2 separate regions of the Homo sapiens genome follow, and region 2 is linked to region 1. Evidence: promoter capture Hi-C in human tissues and cell types (Jung and others, 2019). All regions are on one chromosome and are shown on one strand. Each heading gives the region's core, a stretch centred on a gene start or on the middle of the fragment in contact. The rest is flanking DNA. Distances are from core to core; before and after follow the strand shown. Region 1 holds the start of HOXB9 (homeobox B9). Region 2 overlaps SKAP1 (src kinase associated phosphoprotein 1).

Region 1 (6,864 bases), core at 925-3,424:
GGAATCTTTTTTCCTGAAGAGTGTATTTATGACAGGTAAAGCCAACAGCAGACTTCATAGGGCTGGCAAATTGAGAACAGGTGCTTTGCCTTAACTGTGATTCATTCGCTCAGTGCCCAGCTTTTTCGCTGGTGAGTCCGGGGAGCTCCCTCGACTTTCCCAAGCGTCCAACCTCTGCTTGGAAGAATTTGCATCGGATTTTTGTTTCCCCACTTGGGTCCTATGGAAAAGGCAGACCTTCATGCTGTTTGGTTACGGATCTGCCGGGCTGTCACCCTCGGAGAGCAGGGGTGGGAAAGGAGGGGGCCAGATGGGCGCCGGCATTGATCTTTAAAAAATCATTTTGAAATCGCCATAATGTGAAGAAATATGGCGCTTCACCCTCGTATTTCACGTGTAATGACACGAGATGGCTTCATTTGGAAAGACAAGCGGGTGGGAGTGTGTGCCTGTGTGGGAGGTGATCCGCAGCCTTCTACAAGGCAGAGGGGTAGGTGGCCAAAAAGATACGGACTCAAGTTAGAGTGGCCCCTCTTTTGCTAAAAGGACCGGACTGAGGGCAGCCTGCCTTATTAGGACTCAGAGTCAGAGAGTTGCCGAGAAATCCACCCCAATCTACCCCTGAGCCTAACCAGAGGAGAACTGGGTCTGTCCAGGGGTCACACCTCCCCAAGTGCCAGGAGAGGCGACTGCAACCAGGGCAGAAGCTGAGGAGCAGGGGCTGGGAGAGGAGCGAGGAAGCCAGTCGGTGGGCCCCGGGGGAGTCCCTGTGCAGGGCCACAGAATAGATATATATAAAAAGGGCTATTTGGAAGCTCCAATGAAGGGGTCTGCAGGGGGTAAGGCAGTGAGGGGAAGAGACTGACCATGGGCTCGCTGTCCACACTGGCCCCTATATCGGTGTTTGGAAATCTCCAGAGCAGGAGCCTCAGGTGAGAGGAGTAGTACAGGAGGGCTGAAAACTCAGCCCAGGCTCCTTCCTCTTTGGATGGAAGGGGAGATAACTTGGGACCCCTTCCCTTGCTGACTGGGGATCCTTTCCCAGGCCTCTGCTCTGGTCACACCTCAGGAAAGTGGCCTTAACCCTTTCTCCTATTTAGCTCCCTCATCAGGGCAAATTTAGGGGCCTGGGTGGTTATTCAGTGGAGAAAAGGAGAAATGGCTTCCCTCACCCCCACCCCCCACGTCACCACCACCATCTTAAATCCATCCTTCTGGCCAGAGTCAGAGAAAGGCCCAATAAATGTAAAGGCGCTCTGGTTCCTTGTATTAAACTCTTTCCTAGGCTCACGTTTCCGGGACCTGATGGATCCCTTTAACCTCAAGTAGTTTCTAATTTCAGGACAGATAGTGGATTCTTGGACACTCAGTCGTTTTATTCACCTCTCTCCTCCTCCCTCAGCTACTGAGGGGCCCAGGGAAGCTCGCAGTCATGTAAATCTCTACAAAGAGTGCAAGGAGAGCCCCCTCCAAAGCGGACAACGTCCTAAAATCCCCAACTTTTCCCCTCATCATTTTACTTCATCTCCTGTGGATTGCTGCTGCTGTTGTTGTTTAATAAACATCTTTTGTCAAGGGGAAAGAGAAGAGGAAATGAGGGCCTGCGGGGTGGAGGTGTGTGTGGGGGGACAGGAGCACCTCCTCTTCCAGTATCCTCTCGGGCCTCTATGGCTTCTCCCCGGGCTGGGGCTCTCTCCCTCCCTCCGCCCTTGCTCTCCCTCCCTCCCCGACCCGCCTGGGGAGAGGGCTCTACAGCCTGCGTCCCTCCCAAGGCAGCCCGCCGCTTCCCTCCGCCTCTCCTCCGCCCCCGCCGCCCCATGTTGAGAACTGCCCCCCTTCCTGCAGCGGGAGGGGGGGACCGGGCGGCCGGTAGCTGGGGCTGAGGTTACGTGGCCGCCGGAGCCCTGACGTGATAGCACATTGCATCAGCATAAAACAATCCATCCTCGATATGGAGTGCGGTGCGGACGGATGACAGCGAGAGCGCAGCCCCCTCGCCCGATTGATTTATGTCGGAGCTGACGCTTTATCAGGCAGTCGGAAAAACTTTGACCAATCATTTTGCAAGGAGAGCTGAGACGGGCTGCTCCACTGTACTTTGTTGGCTGAGAAGTTGAGCAGGGGGTGGGGGTGGGAGGGTGGGGGGCTGGGGGGGTCGCGTCCGAAAGCCCTCACACCGGTCCGGGTGCCACCTCTCCCTGCTTGGGCGCCGCCGCGCGAGCGCTTCCCTTCCCCCTGCAAGCGCCCGGATAATGTCTGAGAATGTCCATTTCTGGGACGCTTAGCAGCTATTATGTCGACTCGATCATAAGTCACGAGAGTGAGGACGCGCCTCCAGCCAAGTTTCCTTCTGGCCAGTACGCGAGCTCGCGGCAGCCGGGCCACGCGGAGCACCTGGAGTTCCCCTCGTGCAGCTTCCAGCCCAAAGCGCCGGTGTTCGGCGCCTCCTGGGCGCCGCTGAGCCCGCACGCGTCCGGGAGCCTGCCGTCCGTCTACCACCCTTACATCCAGCCCCAGGGCGTCCCGCCGGCCGAGAGCAGGTACCTCCGCACCTGGCTGGAGCCGGCGCCGCGCGGCGAAGCGGCCCCGGGGCAGGGCCAGGCGGCGGTGAAGGCGGAGCCGCTGCTGGGCGCGCCTGGGGAGCTGCTCAAACAGGGCACGCCCGAGTACAGTTTGGAAACTTCGGCGGGCAGGGAGGCCGTGCTGTCTAATCAAAGACCCGGCTACGGGGACAATAAAATTTGCGAAGGAAGCGAGGACAAAGAGAGGCCGGATCAAAGTAAGTTATAAAAAGTGAGGAAATACCCAGGCCGAAGGCCAGGAGGGGGGCGGGGAGGGGAAAGGCAATAAACTGCGGACAATGTGAAGGGAAACTGCGGCGGTGGCCGGAGAGCGGGCCGGGAGGAGGAGGGGAGAGGAAGGAAAGACGGAGGGAAGGGGAAAGCTGCGTGCTCTAGAAGGGGAGACTGAGGCCGCCAGAGGAGCGCTGCCCCCACTTCTCCAAGTCCTGCGGGGAACAGGGGCTCGGGGATCGACTTGCAGCTCTCTCGGCCCTCTTTCCCCCTCTCTCCCGGAGGCCCCAGCTGAAAGCCCGGCCAGAGACCGGCGACGGCCGGGAGAGGAGCTGGCGGGGGCCGGGGCCAGCGGCCAGCGAGGCCGAGAGCCGGCGAGGGCAAGGGCCGGAGCGCACTGGGCTGCCCGGGGCCGTGCGGCTGGCAGAGCTCCCCGCGCCACGCGCAGACCGTAAAAGCCGGCCAAGGGGAAGGGGGAGGGAGCTCATTAGGATTTTATTTGCGATGCAACAGCTTGGCGGAGGATTGTTCCTAGCAGATCTCGCGCTGTAGCCGCGCAGAGTCCGCAACCGGCGACAGGAGGGGCGGGGGAAGCCCAGGACGCGGTGACTGAGCCCCCTCCCCGGATGCGCCGGCCCCTCCCCGGGAGCCTTCCCTCCGGTGGCCCCTCTCCTCCTCGGCGTCCTCGCAGGGGCTACCGCTTCCTTTTCTGCGGTCCCCCGCTGCTCTCTGCGGGGCTCCCGAGCCCCAGCCCGGGCTGTCCGCCTCTTGGGGAGTCGGGGAATCGCTTCCGAATATCGGGGCATCTCGAAGGGACCCCGGGGAGAGGAGGGGTGGGGGGAAGAGAGAGTTGCAGAGAGGCGGAGAACTTTACCCTTTGTGGGTAGTTTCCCGTCACCTCCCACTCCTCAAAAGCACCCCGGCCAGAACGCCAAGTCTGGCTGATTTTCAGGAGGTGCTACTAGATGAGAAGAGAGGGTTCTCCTATTATTTATTTTTAAGGTTGAGAAGGGCTCATCGGTGAGGGAACTCAGCCTCAAACAATGACTCGCAGGCTGGTGGATCAGGTCCTCGTTTCTTACTCTTTTTGGGAAGTAGGGATGTTTTAGTCTCTCCTTGCCCTGCTAGATTTCCCATTGACGGAGTGGCCCCAGGGCCCTTTAGAGCATCCTTGCCTGCTGGAGAGTAAAGAGCAGCCCCATTCCTTGCAGGGTCCTGTCACCTCCAACCTGCCAGGTGGAATCCTAAGAGCTGGCATTTAGGGAACACATTCTTCCCCAACCCTCCCCGCACACTCCCAAACAGATCCCCCACCCTAAACCCCCAAATTCTGCCTGAAAAGCCCATTATGGCAAGGCAGCCATTTGGCTAGGATCAATTATTAACAGTTTTTTCCCTCTTTCATATTTAATGCGGCTGCGGGTCCCATCCCAGGCAATCACATTAAGGAAATAGCGCTGCAAATTGGTAAGACACGGTACTTAGTGTAGGATGAACCAAATTTTTTATATAAAAAAATCCAGTGTTTTTCACTTGGGGAGAAGGAAGCTAGTAGCTGGTGGCTGTTATTTTTAATTGGCTTAGCTTTATTTGGCAACTTTTTTGAGTTCCAGAGTAGGGGGAGAGAAGGTAAGAAGAGAAGCCTGTATATATTTTTGTTTCCTCTCTTCCACTCGGTTACCCTCTTCTCCCCTCCAGCCCCCACATAGGATCAATTAAGGCTAGGTGTGCTGTGAAGGGCTTCCTTTTACCTCCACATCACCCCTGGCTCCCCACCTTGGGACTGGAGCAATTTTATTCCCTAATTTCCCTGCACTTGCGTTAACCAAACTGTGAGCTGAGCAGGAGCTGAAAAGGAGAGAGACTATTGCAACCATAAGTTATCTGTGAGCCCCCAGTGCTCCCCTGTCCATAAGCTGGAGTTGATAAATGGTTGCAATTGCATTGCGTGTGAATTGGAGTGTGCTGGCTGTTTGTGGCTCTAAGTGCAGACCCATATTCGTGGTGTGTGGTGGTGGCAGGGGGGGAGATTTCTACGCAGACACACATGCCTGCTGCCATGTGGTCTAGAGACACAAGCTTGTTTGTGATCAAGGCAGGGGATATTGGGACTGGACTGAAGGGCTGAGAGGTCTCTTGGGGTGAAGTGACACCCCAAATGCAGTGACTGAACAGACATCTCACTTCCCCACCCAACTCCTCCTCTCACCTCCTAGAGCCAGGACCCTTCAGGTCAGCCACCCACCCCTAGTCAGCCTGGGAGTGCTGCTGGTGGGACTTCAACCATGCTGAACTCTGACCTGAGTCCTAAGCAGTTTGGACCCAAGTAGAGAAAAATTGAGAGGGAACTTGATGTAGGCAGAGCTTTGGAAGTGCTGAGGAAGCCTGGGCCCACGTTTGGCTCCATCCTTTCCACACAGCCTCTCACCTGGAGGTGTCTATAGCAATGGCTGGCCCATCTGTGACACCCTTCCTGGGAGCTTGAAGACCCAGGTGGCCTCTTCTCCAGTGCAAGATGGGGAGTGGAGACCAAGGGAGTGCCCTCTTGATCTGGGGCCCTTCACCCCCTTCCTTTCTTTGATTCTATCGCTGCTTCTCTTTCAGCCAACCCCTCCGCCAACTGGCTGCACGCTCGCTCTTCCCGGAAAAAGCGCTGTCCCTACACCAAATACCAGACGCTGGAGCTAGAGAAGGAGTTTCTGTTCAATATGTACCTCACCAGGGACCGTAGGCACGAAGTGGCCAGACTCCTCAATCTGAGTGAGAGACAAGTCAAAATCTGGTTTCAGAACCGGCGGATGAAAATGAAGAAAATGAATAAGGAGCAGGGCAAAGAGTAAAGATTAAAGATTACCCCCAGTCCTCCCTAGCTCTTCCCCATCTCACTCTTAGTTATGTGACGACTGCAAAGCCAGTGCTGTCTGGGATGTATTCAAGTGAATGGGGAAGGGAGTCTCTCTTCCAAGTCCTTTATCTGCACCTAGAACCTCCCTCCTTTCCTTTGCCCTTACCTGTCTCTCTCTTCTCTCTAGGTGTCAGGAGAAAGTTTTGTTGATTTAGAAGATAGAAATAGTTGGTTCCTAAGAATGTGATGGGCCACAAGGAAAGAGAGACCCCAGTCAAGCTCCTAGTATGCCCTGTAATTTTTCTGGGAAGTCCTAGCCCCTCACTTCCAGCTTGCCTGTTTCTTCTCTACACCCACCCAAAAGTCACCCAGGGACACTCCAACTCTACACAGCTCAGCAGACATCCACACACAGTAATGGGGTGAGCTCACAACCACCATTCAGTCAAGTGAGGTGACACTCCAGTTGCAGACCATCGCACACCAAATTTGGCAAAACAGCCCTCAGACTGTCAGGCAAGCCCGGGTTCTACCCCTAATGCAAATACCCACCAGGGAGATGTCTAGAGGCAGACTCCTGAGTGAGGTGTTGCAGCCCAAAGGCTGCAGCATTGCCATACCATTCCCATGGAGTTGCCAACTATTCTCAGGCCAAGGGCCATGGGGAAGATGGAGCAAACCTAGCCCCCAAGCCGGTGGGCTAGAAAGTACAAGAAAAGGCAGCACGTGGTTTTATGAAGCTATCTTAGGTGGAGCTACTCCCCACCTCCCACCAACATATACATTTTGTTGCAGGAAATGTTTAATTCCGCATGATGTTTCCCTCTCCTTCCAACAAAAGAAGGTCAAACTGTGGGTCGTAGAGCCTTGACAATGTTGTCCTCCTGTTCATCTGTGCACCACTTGACAGACTGTAGCTTCTCTTGCTCTCGACCGGCCCTGCATTCTTCCGCACCCTCCCTAGCTCTGAAATCAACTCTCTTCGGTCGTATCCACCTTGCACCCGCAAGTCAAGCCGCCCCTTGTAGAAAAATCCCTCCACCTTCCGTTCCCCGCTAGGTCAACCCCACTGTAGACAGGAAAGCCAGGCCAGGAGAGTCCGAATGAGAATTTATTGTGAATCGATTCCCAAGCTCCCTTCCGGGACAAGTGGTCTGGGACAGGGAGGAGCAACGGCCCCAGCGCGCAACGCTCTGCGCGTTCCTCCGAATCCCGTCGGCTTCTCGA
Region 2 (7,071 bases), core at 2,211-4,710, 220 kb after region 1:
AAGGAAAGAAAGAAAGAAAAGAAAGAAAGAAAGAAAGAAAGAAAGAAAGAAAGAAAGAAAGAAAGAAAGAAAGAAAGGAAAGAGAAAAAAAGAAAATGCACCCTGGGTTTTGAGGATGTATGCCAAAAAAGCAAAATAGCCCAGGAATAATTTTTATATTGGTTACATATTGAAATGATATTTTTGGTTAAATAAAAAATAAATACTATTAAAGTTAATTTCATCCCTCTTTTTAGTACTTTTTAAATGAGGCTACTAGAAAATTTAAAATGAAATGTGTAGCTTCCATTCTGTTTCTGTTGGACACACTCCAAACCATTATTTATTTTTGTCTACTTCATCTATCCAAGACTAGTAGTAACATTAAAATGTTTTTTTTAGTAATTTCTGCTTCTCTCACAGTTTTCATTGTATGTATTTTAGTGCGTTACTTAGCACATAACAGGTCATATCTATTGTGGATTGTACTTTACATCAAATGAAATTACCACCTTTGGCCTTTTAATAATAGTTTCTTTAATTCTATTTCGATATGAATTATTGCCATTCTTGCTTTTAAAAAATCATTTTGCCTAGGATGTTTTGTACACCTCTCTTCTTTTATTTTCAGCTTCATTTATTTCGGATATCTTTTAAATAGTAATTAAACTTGTGTAATTTTTTGATACAGTACAAAAATTTTTGCTTTTAATACAGAAGTCTAACTTTTCACTATTGTCATCTTATTTTATGAGTTCCACTTTTATGCTATTTTGCTTTTCTTTTTTCTATATTTTATTATATTGAATATTTTAAAAACCTTTAATTCTACTTTTATTACATTTACACTTCAAAAAATCATAATTAAACCCATTGTCTTTAATTATCACTGTCAAGGATGAAGTAGTATCCATTGACCCTATGTAAATGTGTAATTTAGTATATATTTTCCTCTCTATTCATTTTCTAACTAGGAATTAGACTATTTTTACATTTTTTACATTGTCTCGCCATACGAATTTTTGTTTTGGTTTTGTTTCTATAGAGTTTCACCCTTCTTGCCCAGGCTGGAGTGCAATGGCATGATCTTAGCTCACTGCAACCTCCACCTCCTGGGTTCCAACAATTCTCCTGCCTCAGCCTCGGGAGTAGCTGGGATTACAGGCATGTGCCACTACGCCCGGCTAATTTTGTATTTTTAGTAGAGATGGGGTTTCTCCATGTTGGTCAGGCTGGTCTTGAACTCCCAACCTCAGGTGATCCGCCCGCCTCGGCCACCCAAAGTGCTGGGATTACAGGTGTCAGCCACCTCACCCAGCCAAGAATTATTTTTGATATTAATATTTTTATAAATTTTAAACCATGTAGACCACAGTGATTTCTATTTTTTTTTTTTTTTTCCGAGACAGAGTCTCACTCTGTCTCCCAGGCTGGAGTGCAGTGGCGCAATCTCAGCTCACTGCACTCTCCGCCTCCCAGGTTCAAGGGATTCTCCTGCCTCAGCCTCCCAAGTAGCAAGGATTACAGGTGTCCGCCATCATGCCTGGCTAATTTTTTTATATTTTTAGTAGAGATGGGTTTTCGCCATATTGGCCAGGCTGGTCTCAAACTCCTGACCTCAAGTGGTCTGCCCGCCTCTGCCTCCCAAAGTGCTGGGATTACAGGCGTTACCCACTGTGCCCGGCTGTGATCTAGATTTAACTTGTTTTGCAGTTTGACATTTATCACCACCTCTTTCTCTTTGTGGATCAGAACATATACTTCAGAAGATTTTCTCCTTCTATATGGCCAAACCAACATCTTGACTATGCTTGGAATTCTTAGAGCACACCATTTTTCCTTTAAAACTTTGTACACGTCTCATCTTCTGATGCTTATTTTGTAGCAAGGCCATTTTGATTTTGTTGTTCTTGTTGCTGTTGTTCTGTAGGTGTCTTATTTTTTCTCTCTGGGTGCTTGAGAGATGTTTTCACTTTCCTTGAAATTTTGAAAGCTCAAAAGGATATGTGTAGGTGTTGTTATTTATACACACACACACACTGATACATATATATATATGTATATATATTTTAACTATGATTTTCAAAGTGTAAATGTAATAAAAAATATTCAATATAGTATTTTGAGACAGAGTCTTGCACTGTCACCCAGCTGGAATGCAGTGGGTTAATCACCGCTCTCTGCAACCTTGAACTCCTGGGCTCAATGGATCCTACTGTCTCAGCCTCCCAAGTAGCTACAGGCGTGCACCACCATGTCCAGTTAATTAAAAACTTTTTTTTTTTTTTTTTGTAGAGACAGGGTCTTGATTTTTGCCCAGGCTTGTCTTGAACTCCTGGGCTCAAGCAGTTCTCCTACCTTGGCTTCCCAAAATGCTGAGATTACAGGTATTTATTTATTTTTTTAAACAGCTTCATTGAGATATAATTCACATACTATACAACTCACACATTTAAAGCATACAACTCAATGGCTTCTAGTATATTCACAGAATTGTGTAACTATCACCACAGTAAATTTTAGAACATTTTCATTACACCGAAAGAAAACCTGAACCTCTTAGCCTTCACTCTCCAATCCCTCTTCCTGACTTTCTTTATCTACTTTCTGTCTCTTTAGATCTGCCTATTCTATACATTTCATGTAAATGGAATCATACGATATGTGGTCCTTTGTGACTGGCTCCTTTCACTTAGCATAATGATTTTAAAGATTCATCCATGTTGTAGCACATATCAGCATTTCATTTCCTTTTATTGCTGAATAATATTCCATTGTATGCTACATTTTATCTATCCATTCATCAGTTAATGGATATTTGGGTTGTTTCCACTTTTTAGCTATTAAGAATAATGCTGCTATGCCAGGCATGGTGGCTCACGCCTGTAATCCCAGCAATTTGGGAAGCCAAGGCAGGCAGTTTGCTTGAGTCTAGGAGTTCAAGACCAGCCTGGGCGAAGTGATGAAACCCCATCTCTACTAAAAATACAAAAATTAACCCAGCATGGTGGCATGCACCTGTAATCCCAGCTACTTGGGGGGCTGAGGCACGAGAATCACTTGAATCCGGGAGGCAGAGGTTGCAGTGAGCTGAGATCGCACCACTGCCCTCCAGCCTGGGCAATAGAGCGAGACTCTGTCTCAAAAAAAAAAAAAATGCTGCTATGAATATTTGTGTAAAGTTTTTGTGTCAGCACCTGTTTTCATTTCTTTTGGGTATTTCCTAGTAATATAATTTCTGGATCCTATGATAATTCTCTGTTTAGCCTTTTGAGGAACTGCTAGATTATTTTTCTAAGTGGCTGCACTGTTTTACATTCCTACCAGCAATGTATAAGGTTTCCAATTTTTCTACATTTTCAACAACATTCATTGTTGTTCTTTTCGCCTGTAACCATTCTAGTGGGTGTGAAGTGGTATTTCATGATTTTGATTTGCATTTCCCTGATGGCTAGTGATATTGAACATCTTTTAATGTGCTTATTGGTCATTTGTGTATCTTCTTTAGAGATATGTCTATTCAGTTCCTTTTCTCATTTTTCAGTTGGGCTATTTGTCTTATTATTACTGAAATATAAGAGTTTTAATATATTCTACATACAAGTCTTTCATCAGCTATATGATTTGCAAAAGCTTTTCTCTCATTCTGTGGGTTATCCTTTTGCTTTCTTGTTGGCCTTCTTTGAAGCACAATAGCTTTTAAATTTGATGATGCCTTGTTTGTCTATTTTTGTATTTGGTTGCTTTTTTTTTCTTGGTGTCATATCTAAGAAACCATTACCTAATCCAAGGACCCAAAGATTTACACCTGTCTTTTTCTAAGAGTTTCATAGTTTTAGCTCTTATATTTAGGTCTTTGATCCATTTTTAGTTAATTTTTTTATATGGTGTGAGGTAGGAATCCAACTTCATTCTTTTGCATGTGTATACTCAGTTGTCTCAGCACCATTTGTTGAAAAAACAACTTTTTCAACATTTAATTGTCTTGACCCTCTTGCAAAAATTGACCATAAGTGTGAGGGTTTATTTCTGGATTCCCAATTCTATTCCTTTGAACTTTATCTCTGTCCTTATGCCAGTACCATATTTTCCTAATTGCTGTAGTTTTGTGGTAAGTTTTGAAGTCAGAAAGTGTGAGTCCTCCAAATTTGTCTTTCTTTTTCTTTCCTTTTTTTTTTCTTTTTTGAGACAGAGTCTTGCTCTGTTGCCTAGGTTGGAGTGCAGTGGCATGATCTCGGCTCACTGCAACCTCGGCCTCCCAGGTTCAAACAATTATTCTGCCTCAGCCTCCCAAGTGGCTGGGATTACAGGCACTAGCCACCACACTCAGCTAATTTTTGTATTTTTAGTAGAGACAGGGTTTCTCCGTGTTGACCAGTCTGGTCTTGAACTCCTGACCTCAGGTGATCCACCCGTCTCAGCCTCCCAAAGTGCTGGGATTACGAGTGTGAGCCAACACGCCCGGCCATTGTCTCTCTTTTTCAAAATTGTTTTGGCTATCTGGATTCCTTACATTTCCAAGTTAATTTTAGGATTAGCTTTTCAATTTCTACAAAAAAAGCCAGCTGGGATTTTGATAGGGGTTACATAAAAGCTTTAGATCAGTTTGGGGAGTATTGCCATTTTAACGATATTAAGTCTTCTGATCATGAACATAGAATATGTTCTATTTATTCGTAAGTGCTTAATTCTTAATTCTTTTACCTGCTTTATTTCTTTTCTTTTTTTTTAATTTTTATTTTTGAGATAAGGTCTTGCTCTGTCACCCAGCCTGGAGTGCAGTGATGTGATCTCAGCTCACTGCAGCCTCAACCTCCCTGGGCTCAAATGAGGCCACCTTAGCCTCCTGAGCAGCTGGGACCACAGATGTGCACCACCATGCCTGGCTAATTTTTGTATTTTTTGTAGAGGCGGGGTTTCATCATGTTGACCAACTCCTGGGCTCAAATGATCTGCCCGCCTTGGCCTCCCGAAGTGCTGAGAATAATCCCAAGCATGGACCACCATGCCCATCCTACATGCTATCTTAAATGGAATTTTATTAATGTCCTTTTTGTTTGTTCATTGCCACTATATAGAAATACAGTTGATTGGCTGGGCGTGGTGGCTCACACCTGTAATCCCAGCACTTTGGGAGGCCCAGGCGGGTGGATCACCTGAGGTCAGGAGTTTGAGACCAGCCTAGCTAACGAGGAGAAACCCTGTCTCTACTAAAAATACAAAAATTAGCCAGGTGTGGTGGTGCGTGCCTGTAGTCCCAGCTACTCAGGAGGCTGAGGCAAGAGAATTGCTTGAACCCAGGAGCCAGAGGTTGCAGTGAGCTGAGATCGCGCCACTACACTCCAGCCTGGGAGGCAGAGTGAGACTCCGTCTCAAAAAAAAAAAAAAAGAAAAGAAAAAAGAAATACAGTTGATTTTTTTACATTGATCTTATATCCTGCAAAGTTGCTGAACTCTTTTATTAGTTTTAATAGTTTTTTAATAGATTCCTTAGGGTGTTCCATATACAGGATGTCATCTGCAAATAGAAATAGTTTTACTTCTTCCTTTCCAGTTTGAATGCTTTTTATTTCATTTTCTTGCTTAGTTGTCCTGGCTGGCATCACCTGTACAATGTTCAGTATAAGTGGTGAGAACAGACATCCTTATCTTATTCCTGATCTAAGGAACGTGGGGAAAGTGTTCAGTCTTTGACCATTTATTTTCTTTTTAATTTTTTTTTTTTTTTGAGACAAGAGTCTTGCTCTGCCACCCAGGCTGGAGTGGCACAGTCATGGCTCACTGCAGCCTCAACCTTCCAGGCTCAAGTGATCCTCCCACTTGAACCTCTTGAGTAGCTAGGACTACAGGCATGCACCACAATGCCCAGCCAATTTTTTAAAAATTATCTTTTGTAGAGATGGAATCTCTCTATATCATCTAGGCTAGTCTCAAAACTTCTGCCCTTAAGTGATCCTCTTGCCTCGGCCTCCCAAAAGGTTGGGATTACAGGCACGAGCCACCATGACTGGCCAGTCTTTAATCATTAAGTACAATGTTAGCTGTGGGTTTGTGTTGATGCTTTTTATTAGTTTGAGGAAGCTTCCTTCTATTCCTAGTTTGTTGAGAATTTTTATCACGAAAGGCTGTTGACTTTTGTTAAATGCTTCTTCTGTGTCTAGTGAGATGATCATGTGGTTTTTTTCCTTTATTCTATTGTTATGATATATTACATAAATTGAATCTTAGATGTCATTTATTTTTGCCTTTTAATTCAGCTTCCCATTTCCTCATTCGTTAGCATTCAAAGGACCCTAGTGGAACCCATTAAATCACATATGCAATAGATACAATGCAGAGCTTGGATGTTGATGGTGGTCCTTTGTGAAATATTCAATTTCCAGGACTTTGTATCTCATCAAAAGTCCTAGCGATGGCTATTTAGGATTTTTTGTTTGGTGGTTTTTTTTGTTTGTTTGTTTGTTTCTTTTTGAGACGGAGTCTTGCTCTGTCTCCAGGCTGTAGTGCAGTGATGCAATCTCAGCTCACTGCAACCTCCAACTCCCTGGTTCAAGTGATTCTCCTGCCTCAGCCTCCCAAGTAGCTGGGTCTACAGGGGTGTGCCAGCATGCCCAGCTAATTTTTGTATTTTTAGAGAGACGGGGGGTTTCACCATGTTGGCCAGGATGGTCTCAATCTCCTGACCTCATGATCCGCCCGCCTTGGCCTCCCAAAGTGCTGGGATTACAGGCGTGAGCCACCCGCCTTGGCCTCCCAAAGTGCTGAGATTACAGGCGTGAGCCACCACGCCCGGCCTGGCGTTGTTAAATGACGTGAATATAAAACAAATTTTTAGGTGTGCTTATCCAACTATATAAATTCATAGCAATATTTTGATAGTATGTATCAGGGGTCCCCAACCTTTTTGGCACTGGGGACTGGTTTCATGGAAGACAATTTTTCCATGGACCGGGGGTGGGGGGATGGTTTGGCGATGATTAAAGAGCATTAGATTTATTATGCACTTTATTTCTATTATGATTACATTGTAATATATAATGAAAAAATTATACAACTCACCATAATGTAGAATCAGTGGGAGGCTTGAGCTTG

The links. The method cuts DNA at HindIII sites, captures the fragments that hold promoters and counts their contacts. A contact is called where the count stands out against the background at its distance.
Region 2: a contact is called between a fragment that was not itself captured here and the fragment with the promoter of HOXB9 in region 1, in 4 of the 25 tissues and cell types used here (H1 embryonic stem cells, mesenchymal stem cells, pancreas and 1 more).

What each region holds. Positions count from the first base shown.
Region 1 is chr17:48,621,668-48,628,531 of GRCh38, reverse strand. It overlaps HOXB9 (homeobox B9), which reads left to right and starts at 2,174. Exons shown (of 2, transcript NM_024017.5): 1 at 2,174-2,779; 2 at 5,397-6,864. The coding sequence starts at 2,263. The coding sequence ends at 5,632. RefSeq lists a silencer at 1,078-1,233 and an enhancer at 2,644-3,321. The HindIII fragment of the contact is 6,922 bases long and covers 1-5,964 here.
Region 2 is chr17:48,398,399-48,405,469 of GRCh38, reverse strand. The region is part of intron 1 of SKAP1 (src kinase associated phosphoprotein 1); the gene reads left to right. Among named protein-coding and RNA genes, the nearest start is that of SKAP1, 28 kb to the left of the region's middle. The HindIII fragment of the contact is 6,433 bases long and covers 244-6,676 here.